3 separate regions of the Homo sapiens genome follow, and regions 1 and 2 are each linked to region 3. The links are contacts of gene promoters, found by promoter capture Hi-C in blood cells and fetal thymus (Javierre and others, 2016). All regions are on one chromosome and are shown on one strand. Each heading gives the region's core, a stretch centred on a gene start or on the middle of the fragment in contact. The rest is flanking DNA. Distances are from core to core; before and after follow the strand shown.

The links. The method cuts DNA at HindIII sites, captures the fragments that hold promoters and counts their contacts. A CHiCAGO score of 5 or more calls a contact.
Region 1: a fragment that was not itself captured here is called in contact with the fragment with the promoter of AOX1 in region 3 in 1 of 17 cell types (endothelial precursors); the score reaches 5.3 in endothelial precursors.
Region 2: a fragment that was not itself captured here is called in contact with the fragment with the promoter of AOX1 in region 3 in 2 of 17 cell types (megakaryocytes and endothelial precursors); the score reaches 8.0 in megakaryocytes.

What each region holds. Positions count from the first base shown.
Region 1 is chr2:200,012,749-200,016,785 of GRCh38, forward strand. The region is part of intron 1 of LOC124906112 (a long non-coding RNA gene); the gene reads right to left. Among named protein-coding and RNA genes, the nearest start is that of MAIP1, 59 kb to the left of the region's middle. The HindIII fragment of the contact is 990 bases long and covers 773-1,762 here.
Region 2 is chr2:199,996,041-199,999,790 of GRCh38, forward strand. The region is part of intron 2 of LOC124906112 (a long non-coding RNA gene); the gene reads right to left. Among named protein-coding and RNA genes, the nearest start is that of MAIP1, 42 kb to the left of the region's middle. The HindIII fragment of the contact is 2,678 bases long and covers 169-2,846 here.
Region 3 is chr2:200,583,624-200,587,364 of GRCh38, forward strand. It overlaps AOX1 (aldehyde oxidase 1), which reads left to right and starts at 2,391. Exons shown (of 35, transcript NM_001159.4): 1 at 2,391-2,530. The coding sequence starts at 2,486. It overlaps SGO2 (shugoshin 2), which reads left to right. Exons shown (of 9, transcript NM_152524.6): 9 at 1-473. The HindIII fragment of the contact is 4,080 bases long and covers 1,021-3,741 here.

The DNA of each region.
Region 1 (4,037 bases), core at 18-2,517, 570 kb before region 3:
GCAAGAACTAAAAAATTTTATAGAACCAGAAGGTTATCAGTAAAATTCTTTTACTCTCACTTTCCTCTTCTTCCTGTCCCTCTGGCCCCTGGTTCCTTGTCTCTGCTGCACCTGTTTCATTCTTTTGTCTTTGGAAAAATTCCCATTACCAGTGCTCCTAAAAGAGCAGCACCCACCTCTGATTACAAATGGTGTTTCTAGTCTGCACATCCAAAACCAGGAGAGAGAATGTGATGGGCTCAGCTTCAGTGTGATGGGCTCACACTCTCAGATAGGCAAGGACACAGTGTTCTAGTGCTCTTTCCAGGCAGTGCCAGGTATGCTCTCTAAGAAGGGGTATGGGCATCAAGGAAATGATAGTTGGGTAAAGGACAATCATCTCCAATACAAAATTTTGACAAGCTTGTAATTATTTAATTTATTGACTGCTATTGCCAAATATCAATAGCTATTGACAATGTTATTTTAATACACATTTTGATTATGATTTCCTCTAACTTATTTATTTTATAGGTATTATGGAAAATATATAAATAAATCATATCCTTCAATAATAATTATGTCTATCTTAATAGGTATCTTCAGTACCTCACAATGGTATTTGGTAAAGCCAGAGAAATAATTAACTATGTTTATATTCAGTCTTTTGTTGCCAGTGATAATGTTTGAGGCTTTGATAAAACTCTTGAGTTTAACGATTAATAGTATAATTTCTCTCAAAGTTTACCCATTGAAAATTATAATTCTTGATGAAACTAGTTGAGAAATGATAAGCTTCATCTTTATATGTTCCCTTTCTGGTATGTGACATTAAAGTCATTTACTTAAAGATTATGGTTGATTTTTTTTTAAAAAAATCAAAATCCTCACATTTTCAAAGTTAGAAAGCAGCTAAAGATGTTACTTCAATTCCTAAAAGCAAGGCCTTATTAATTCTCTTTTAGTGCTAAAGGATTACCATAAAATTATCATAAATTCTTCTTAATTTCTCTCTCTCTCTTACACACACACACACATGCACATAGAATCATAGAAATCACAGGAATTTTACAGTTGGCCTCCTGAGACAAAACATATAGTATATAAGAATTCTCAGTTATCTGGCTCTGAATTACTCATTTGTAATTATCTGTGGCAAATGGTTAATCTCAGGCTGATGCACCATTGCCAACCAGCCCACCTGGGCCATTCTTCCCATTATGAATTAGTGTGTGGTCAGGGATAGCAAATTACTTTAGCAATAACCAGGGAATACAGATTTAGAAAGACCTAGCTGCAAGAAAAAGTAATTGAATGTACTTCCAAACTAAACAGCCATATGTTTTTGGATGATCTACCATTGGGATTATTTCCATTTTGGCTCCCCTTCATTGATGCAGGTGATTGGGAGAGTGCATTACTAACAACAGTTCCTAAAACGAGGAAAATCTGTTCTCCGCCGGCCTGCTCCTGTGCATAGCCTAAGCAGAGTCAAGAATGACATTTCCTTAAAAATGTAGGTATCAAAAATTTCCTTAAAATTATAAAACTGATTTCATATCTGAAAAAGACAGATTCTCCCATAGGAGGCTATGTCCTTGTAGCTAATAGGACCCTTCCAAAATTTCCATATCCAAACTCTCCGTATAGGGTAGAGGGGGATACAGTGCAAAGAGAGAAAGGGGAGGAAAAGCAGATATGCCTGGACTGCCTCTGTAATTGAACATCTTCTGGCTATTCTTAGATCTTTGGTGAAAGAATTCACTTTGATCAAGTTCTTCAAAGCTTTCAATTACCTACAGGATAAGGATTGTAGATACCAATTTATGATCATGATTTAGAGACTTTAAGTATTTAAATATAATACTATAGAATGAATGAGAATAATTAATATTAATATTACATATTTAAAGCACCTCAATTTTCAGAAGACTTTCATATTATTGAACTCAACTTCCAAATACTTCTTTCTGATAGACTAAGAGCATAAGGGTAATGTGGAAATGTACTACTGATTTACTAATAGTGAATATGCACTTCTGCCTGTGTTGCCAATACTCCATTTCTTCTCCAGCCAGTTTTGCATGCTGCTGCCTGATTTATCTTTCTTTTCTTTTCTTTTTTTTTTTTTTTTTTTTTGAGATGAAGTCTCACTTTGTGAAGTGAGTCTCACGTCTCACTTTGAGATGAAGTCTCACTTTGTTGCCCAGGCTGGAGTGCAGTGGCATGATCTCAGCTCACTGCAACTTCTGCCTCCAGGGTCCAAGCAATTCTCTGCCTCAGCCTTCCTAGTAGCTGGGATTGCAGGCACCCACCCCGCCGCCAGGCTAATTTTTGTATTTTTAGTAGAGACCGGGTTTCACCATCTTGGTTAGACTGGTCTTGAACTCCTGACCTCGTGATCCACCCGCCTCAGCCTCCCAAAGTGCTGGGATTACAGGCGTGAGCCACTGTGCCCAGCCCTGATTTACCTTTCTAAAGGACACCTGTAATCACATCTCTCCCTTGATCCTCATCACCTTTCCTGGAAGTAAAAGCTAGACCTGCTCCACCTTTCTAATCTTATTTCTTCCTTAGCCTCCTCCACAGACCCTCAGTGTTAGTCAAAGTGGCCTCACTAGTGGCTTCGCTGACCAGGTAGGGTAATTTCTTTTTGCCAAAAATGTCTCCTTCCCTTTGCAACTCCATGAATCAATTCAAATCCTGACATTTCTAATAGTTTTGAATAAACATGTTTGATATTATCCTAAGGCTCATAGGTTAGTGCTCTTAAAGCTTTTTACAAATTTACAGATTTATTATTATATTTTGTATTTTAAAAATTAAAATATTATATTTAAATTTTTATATTTTAAAAATATGAAATATAATGACATATAGTGACATATATTTACATACATGTAATTTTTAAAAATTCCATTTAATCCTGTTTGATTTGAATTTTAGTTTGTTCAATAGTAATACTGCCATCCCTGCTACTTTGTTTTATTTTGGTGTAATTTTCCTGGCTTTTTGTTTTAACAAACTTTAGTCATTTTGTTTAAAGACATTATTTCTCTTGCTTTCTCTCTTGTCTTGTTTTAACACAACTTAAGACATCAGAATCTGGTTTTCTTAATTGAGGAATTTAACCTATTCACATTTATTGAGGTAATTGTATGTTTGATTAAATCAGCTAATATTTGTAAAGCGCTCTGAACAGTCCCTAGGACTTGAAAGTGCTGTATTTGTTATATCAATCAATCTTATTTTTGCTTTCTCATTTTGTGTTTTCTCTTTGTAAGGCTTTTTTGTCTTGGTTTGGTTTTGCTTGTTTTCTATTTTGTGTTGTTTTGGGTAGCTGTTCTTCTCTTTTGATGATAAGGTTTTCTTTTTTCACCTGGTATTTGAAAGTTACAAATCTTATTTTTACTGTTCCAGTAGTTATTGTTAGGTTTTTAATAAATATATTTAAACTCACATTTTTCTCAGAATTGATATTTATTCTGTATTTAAAATCTCACTCCCCCCCAGAATAAGGGAAAATCCTCTCACTTACTTTCTCTTTCTCTTTTCCTAGTTTCATTGAAATTGCTTTGAATTTTAAGTTCTAATTATTATGAAATATTTTATGGCATGCTTATCTTTTTAAAAAATTATAGAGTCATATAGCCATATTATCAATAATTATTTAATTTTAATTAAAATTCCTATTAGTATCTATTTTTTCCTCGAATTACACTTCTTTTTTTAAAACCAATTTCTCAGTTTACTATAGCTTTCAATAATTCATTTAGAAAGAATTCATAAGTTGTAAACTGAGATCTTATGTGTTCAAAAATTGCCTTTCCCCACACACGTGAATACTAGTTTTGCTGAAGCAGGAATTCTAGGCTCAAAATAATTTCCTTCAGAATTTAGAAGACATCACTCCATTGTTTTCTAGTGTCATGTATTATAAAGAAGATGCCAATATGCTTTTTTTCTCTTTGGTAGATGTCTTAGTTATTTTGGGCTGCTATAACAAATGCAGTAGACTGGGTGCTTATAAACAACAGAAATTTATTTCTCACATTTCT
Region 2 (3,750 bases), core at 258-2,757, 590 kb before region 3:
GTTCTTTGGTCAAACTTTACATGGACATTTCCAAAGGCCTGCAGGACATCTCCACACAGGTTTCTCACCAGCTCCTCCAACTTGACTTATCTAAACCCAAATTTCTTCATTCTCTCTCTCAGAACAGCCCTTAGGCCAGGGAAAGAGGAGCTCCTGCCATAGGCCTGAAGCTTGAGGGAGCATCCCCACCCCAAAGCCCACATCCTCCTTTTGAGACCATATTCCAGGTACCCAAGACCCCAGAATTCCCTGTCCTGATAGCCTCAGGCCCACTTCTAGGGCTGGTCACTCTGAGGACAGGGTGGGCCAGGAGCAGCTCTCTTCAGGGAATGTGGGTGGAGTTTGGCTGTGAAGGCTGGGAAGTGCATACTTGTCCTTGCAAGGCCCCTCACCATGTTGGGCAAATTCAGGTCAGAAAGAAAAGGAAGTTGTGCAGCAGGGTGGGGCCAAAGACTGGGGGCTGGTTCTCACTGTCTCTATGTTCTGGCATAAAACTCTGAGGAGTCCCAGAAATTAAAATTTCCATCTGGACCTCCAGGACACTGTGAAGGTATATTTGTCAAAGTAGGAGAGTAGGACATGTTTTATTTAACAGTTGGTTGGCTTAATGTATAACTTTAAAATATTTAGACATATGGTATGTGGGCCTCTGTTTGTACTTCTACCGAGGGCCAAGGTGTCTATGTGACACTTCCTGGGACAACAGGGCCTGTTTGCCCCATGGAGGGTATCAGGAATGCCAGCTGAGCTTGGGATGGGAGACGACTAGCCGGGTACTCAGAGAGAGACAGTGCTGGAGCACAGGCCAAAAGGAAGTCAGGAAAGAGCTTCTGCTAGAAGTGAAGAGTGGAAAGAGCAAACCAGGTGAGACAACTAGGGTGGAAAGAGAGTGGAGCAGGAGATGCCAGATGCAGAAATTCCAGGCTGGAGGCATGGGATGAAGAAGAGCCTCTGGTCACAGAACCTGAAGCCAGGAATCAGCAAGGCTGGAAATAGGGCAGATACCAGAAGTACAGGATCCTGCTTAAGCCACACCCTTGTTCCCTATTGTTCTGTGTTTGCATCTTGTCAAACTCAATCTGTATGTCTCAACAGCTGTCCAATGCTCACAGGGTCAAGGGGAGGAATAACCGCAGCATTCCATGGTCCCCCTGCTAGTGGGTAGGTGGTAGCGGTGGGATCCAGGCAGCAGTTTTATCATAGGCAGGTAATGACACTATGCATCAAGATCATCTTCTTGATTTAGCATCCTGGGGAAAGGAGACGGGAAGAACTTGGAAGAGTATCAGAGCCTGCCCCAGTCAAAGACACTAAGGATCAGGAAAGGGTTCCAGCCCAGGAAATCAACTGAAGCAGAATATCAGTTGTGTGGGCCTTGCCAAGGTAGCAGGGAGAGGGAAGAAGGCCAAGGATAAATGTCAGATATAGAGCAATGCCAGTTCTAAGTAGAACTATGGCCATAGCAATTTCTCATCATCCGTGTCTATTTTTGCTGGTGTAATGGTTAGATGATTGGATGGTACTCATGCCATGCTGGTTAAAAATATCTTTTAATGTCACCCTTGGTTGCCAGCCCATTCTCTTCTCGGGTCATGGCTTGCTTTTGAAGTTGGACAGAGAGGAGTAGTGGACCTGAAAACTAGAGGCCTCAGGGTTTCCAGTAATAGCTGAGGAATCTGCAGGACCAAGGGAACCTGGCCACTGGACGCCTCCCCTTCCAGACCATGCCTCAGTAGCCAAGACCCCGGAAGTCTCTGCCCAAATGTCCTGAGCCAATTTTCAGGGCTTGCATGAGCCTCTGCACAGGTCTGTCCTTCTGAGTGTGGACAGGCTCCCCCAATGTACTCCTCAATCTGATCGGTGGCCAAAACAACAGACACTTGTGAGGAGTGTGGATGGAGCTTGGACATGGAGACAGGGGTGTCCACACGTGAGATCTTGAGGCCCTCATACTGCGGGATGGAAAAGAAAGGCCCACTATATCCTGGAAAGGGACTCTGAGAAGTCTGAGGAGTTCTAAATTCAAAACTAGCCTTCAAGGTCAGTGTGAAGTGTATTTGTCAAGATATGAGGATATAATATATTTTATTTAAGTGCTCTGTTAGATTCCTTGATCCTTTTAAATATTTAGATATCAGGCATATGGATTTTCATTTGTCCTCCGGCTCCCACAAATATTAGGGGTGTGTATGCAAGAAACACAGGGATCGTTCTGGCAGAGGTGCATCTTGCAGACATAGCAATGGAGATTTCAGTCCTGATCTAATGAGTCAATGCCACGCATGCCAGAAAGGCCTTCCACAGCATGGTCAGAGGCCAGACAGCAGGAGGGTCCAGGCCTCTTCTTAACAGTCAGCACCAAGGACTGGAGGGCTTTGCATTGACAGCATTTCAGACTGGGTTCTCTTCTCTCCAGTAAGCACTGCCACTATGACTTTCCTCCTACAGTACTGTGTATAGGTGAAATAGTATCATTAAAAATATTCAAAAGCAAGGTCTCTGTGGGCCAGTCAGCACCTGATGCTGACATGTGCAAACAAAGGATTTACTTTATGTATTCATCACATCTACCCTGTGAGGGTGGGAAGGGAAGGCTTCATCATTTCCATTAGCAGATGAGAAAACCAAGGCTTAGTGAGGTTAAATAACTCCAAGATCTCCCAGTAAAGAGAAGGAAGGATCTAAACAAGAAGCTAGGCCTTTTAACTCCGAGTTTAGTACCCTTTCCACTCCACATAGTCCCAATTTAACTCAGAAACAGAAATGCTATAAGAAATCTCCAGCATTTCTTTCCTGAAAGAGTTTATGAACTGCGTTTGGTCAAAGGTTAGCATGTCTATTTATGAAGCTTCTTTAGTTCTGGTTGGTTAATGACATTTAATCGCACGTTCCTTGCAGTGGGCCAGGATAATGGAGAGAGATGCACAGGGGTCAACTAACAACATGCAATTTGATAAAATTCCAAGGCTTTTATGGAGCACAACTGATCCATTATATAAGATTTCATAAGCCAAAGGTAAAATTAAAGTGAGAAAAACTGCCTAAAAATGTCAGGTAGGTGTAGTAGACCATGCAGTTACCTTTTTCTCAGGCAGTTTCAGAAACTGATAACTTAGCAAGATTGGAAACTTTATGTGCAAATGTTGGATGTATAAAATAAGTCAGTAATCAGAGTCGCCAGTGTTCCTTCTCATAAGCTGGTATCTTTGATATCTCCAGTGAGTCAGATAATGAGTCTTTGTAGGACTCACCAGGAACTTCCCTCTGACTCTTCATGGTGCTGAGGTTGCTATCCCTAAAGTGCTGTAGAGTTACGGTAGCAGTTAATTTATGCTGTGTAACAAACCAATCCCCAAAATGTACTGATTAAAATAATCATTGATTGGCTTATGATTCTGTAAGTTGGCCCTTTGGGCTGTACTCATATGGGCAGTTCTGCTGGTCTGACCCAGGCTTACTCATGTGGTTGCAATCCGCTTGAGGGCAGGATGGGTGGCCGTGGCCTGCTTCCACATCTTCTTTTCCTCTAAGAGGCTAGTTCAAGCTTGCTTGCATAGTTTCCAAGCAGCAATTCTGAACCCCAATGTGCACGTGTTTCAAATGTCTCTTTGCATCACATTTGCTAATGTCCCATTGACAAATGCAGGTCACAGGACCAAATGGCAATGGGAGGAAATTCAAAGAAATTGTGGCTTTTCATTTCTTTTTTTTTCCCCCCTTGCAAATCTACTGCAGTCTTTTCAGGTCCAT
Region 3 (3,741 bases), core at 1,141-3,640:
TAGGTATATGTGCATAAAATAGCTATTTTGTAACATTAAACTTTTTGAGTCATTTTGGTCATCATATAACTTACCTTCCTGTTTATTTAAGCTTCTTTTTACCTAGTAGCCTTTAACCAAACAATAACCTTTTAACCAAATAAAATGTGTTAATAAATACCTTTGCATTGGTTATCTTGTATACTAGGCTGTCTTGTTTTGCTGTCTGTTTTTAACCCATTCAATATATGTGGACATCCAAAAGGGTTTAAAAGCCACCTCCTGCCCTGGCCCGTTTTCTCTCCCTTCATTCTTCTGTTTTCAGAAATACATGTTGAATGTCAGCTTCTGTATTATTTCTATTATATGTAATCTGATGACTTAGAGGAGGAGATTAACCTTTCAGGCTCTTTTGAATTTGGTTTTTATAATTTGGTTTTAAAGATCACTTACTCTTCCAGTAATAAGTAGTAATAAATCCTGTTCATATCTGAGATCAATACACAGTTTATTGAATTCAAATGACTACTCAAACTCTATTCCACCTAGATGGAAAACTTTTTTAGACAATATCTGACCACTAACGCGGTGGGCCCAGAAATCTGCATCTTAATCAGATGCTTCAGGTGAGTCCGTCCGAGGATTGTCCTAGTACCACACTTTGAGAGACTGCAGTGGGGGTACAGAGTGCTGGAGGGGTTTAGTCAATAGCTCTAGTGAAGGATGGATAGTTTTATTCAAAGAATCCCAGTTGATGAATGAAGAAGAAATGCTAGAATTAGAAAAATTGCAAACCCCTATTAAAACTACCGCTCAGGCAATGCTCAACAATGGATGTAAAACAATTAGGTGAAATGTTGATGGAGAAATTCATTACAAAGGAATAGCCCTCTGAACCCACTGATCAATGTTAGCATCATTACGAATGAAACAACCAGACACCATATGCTTCCTGCTGTGCTGCAATATTAATTATATGGTACCACCTATGAAGTGTTCTTGCCCTCTCCCCCCCAAAAAATTGAACCTGAATTTAATCAAAGCTTTAGATCTAATATTTAGTGCATAGGAAATAAGTAGAGTAGAAAAACAATACCAGGGAGAAGCAATTAGCCACATTCAAAAAATGGTTCATTTCAATAGAACAACTGACCTGGTTTCTTTTTCAATGTGTTAATAGTGTTAAAAAGTCTGTTTTAGATCAAAAGAGACTGATGAGACCACATGCAAATACATTGCACAGCTCTTGTTTGATTCAAAGAAGTCAAGTGTAAAAGACATTTTTTAGACACGTGAAATGGTGTTGCGGCTGACTAAAAGGATGTGTATGTGTGTTTTTGAAGTATTTAGGGCTAAAATATGTCCAGGATTGGCTTTTAAATACTACAAAAAATGGAGTATGCCAAAACGTTGACCATTGTTAAAGCTCAGTGAAGGGCAGGTAGATGCCAATTGCACTCTTCACTTTTATGTGCAAAGTTTGGAAAATTTCACAATAAAATTTTTGTGTTTACATAAATGAAATAACATGGGAAAATGTTCTAAGGTATGGCAAGTGAAAAAAGCCTGGAAAATAACTAGTTTGTCCCACTTAAGTTTTTAAAGGTGTTAAAAGTACATGTTTCAAAAAGTAAGGATAGACTAAAAAAGTGAACGGTGGTAAGTTCTAAGTTGTGGGCTTACAGGTGTTCTTTATTTTTATGCTTTGCTGTATTTTCCAAGTTTTTTTTTTTAAGTTTTCCAAGATGTTTTACATCTCTGTTCTTATTTACCAGATAAACTTTGTGGTTAGTTACTGGATAAACTGTAAATAGTGATAAAATTTTTAAGTTTATATCAAGATAGCACTTCATTTTAAAACCAGTAATTATTAGGTTGGTGCAAAATTAATTGCAGTTGTTGCCATTGGAAGTGATGGTAAAAACCGCAATTACTTTTGCACCAACCTTATATTTCTAAAAGATCAAGTTGTAAACCTATTTGTTTTCCCTAAGATCCGCTCTTGCAGAGTTGGAATAAATATGATTGTTTACACTTAAGAGTCCAGGACTACAGCAGGCCTGGTTGGAGGGGAGTTACTAATGTTCCCAGACTTAAATCCAGCTGGAACACCACCTAAAATATGCAGTAACATAAGACCATCAAAAGCAATGTCCCAGGACTTACAATGTTTGCTAAGACGCAAGAGGGTGTGACACAGACGCTAAGCGCCACTGGCGAGGAGATGAAGGGGTCGTCTTCATCTTCGCCGGATGATTTCCGCCCACATAGAGGGCGCCAGTGACGCCCACACACGTGCTGGTGTCCCGGGAAGAGTTCCTGGCAAAGAGCTCAGGAACGTTGGATCTTAATCAAGGCTTTCTCCGTCGGGGTGGATGGGTTGGACTTTAGGCTCCAGCAAGCCCCGCCCCACTCGGCGGGTCGGTGCCGCCGGGTCCCAGGTGCCCGCTACTTCCCAGAACCTCCGCCTCCCGCTCCGGGCCCTCGAACCAGCGCGGACACCACAATGGACCGGGCGTCCGAGCTGCTCTTCTACGTGAACGGCCGCAAGGTGAGCGCCCGCGGGCTTCCTCTGCCCCCAGACCTGCGGCCAGGGCCGGGGCAGAGAGGAGCCCCTGCCGTTCGTCCCATCCTTTCGTGCCCGCCGTTTAAGGCACTCAGGCACGGACTGGCTTTCTCCCGTAACAGCGGCTTTGCCTTCGCATTCCCACCCCTGCCTCCGGGGCAGCTAAAGGCTGCGTTTTCAGGGACTGTCCTGGATCTTTGGGCCCCCACCTTCCTTATGTTCCCCTTTCCTCTCCTTCCAAGGCTCACAAGCTGATTTCCAACCACACGCCCTCCCTAAACAGTAAGATAAAAAGTATTCTTGCCCATCAGGGGTCAGCACTCCCAGATCTTCGTTCCCTCAATCCCAGCCGATAACGGGAACGTCCCCAGTACACTGAGAGCAGCCTACAGAAATGGCTGAGCCTCAGCTCGCGGGGTGCGTTTGGAAGCGCAGAGAGCAACTTAGATTCGGGACAAGACCGTAGAGACGAACACATTCAAACCACCCCCATCGTTTCTCAGATGAAGAAATCGTTACTTTCCAAAGTCACAGCTAGTTCCTGGCAGAGCTGAACCCAAGTCAGGCTCTGGGGGCTCCAAGGTCCTCACGGGTTCCACTGCTGGGTGCGGGCTCTGTCGCCTCAGAAGCTGGGCTCGCTCTGCGCAACCCGAGGGACAGTTCCAGGCAGTGTCCGATGTTTGGGAGAAGCAAAGCCCCCTGGGCATCCTTTAAAACACCCCCCTTAATGTGAGCATCAACTCTGCTCACTCTTAATGTTCCAGTTTCATTGACATTACTCTGAAGGAGGAAACTGAGGCAGGAAGGTTAAGGAGCTCCCTTGAGAGCTGTGGCTCACGCCTGTAATCTGCACTTTGGGAGACCGAGGCAGGAGGATTGCTTGAGCCCAGGAGTTCGAGTTTAGCCTGGGCAACATGGCGAAACCTTGTCTCTACAAAAAAAAAACCAAACAAAACAAAACAACAACAACAAAAAAAAACCGGTGTGGTGGTGCGTGCCTGCAGCCCAGCTACTGGGGAGGGTGAAGGAGGATTGCTTGAGTCTAGGAGTTCAAGGTTACAGTGAGCTGTGATCACACCACTGCACTCCAGCTTGGACAAAAGAGTGAGATCCTATTTCTTAAAAACAACAAAAACAGAGCTAACAACCAAGCAAGAGCAGTGGCACCTGATTTCCCTGGTGCTCGTGTTGGTGCC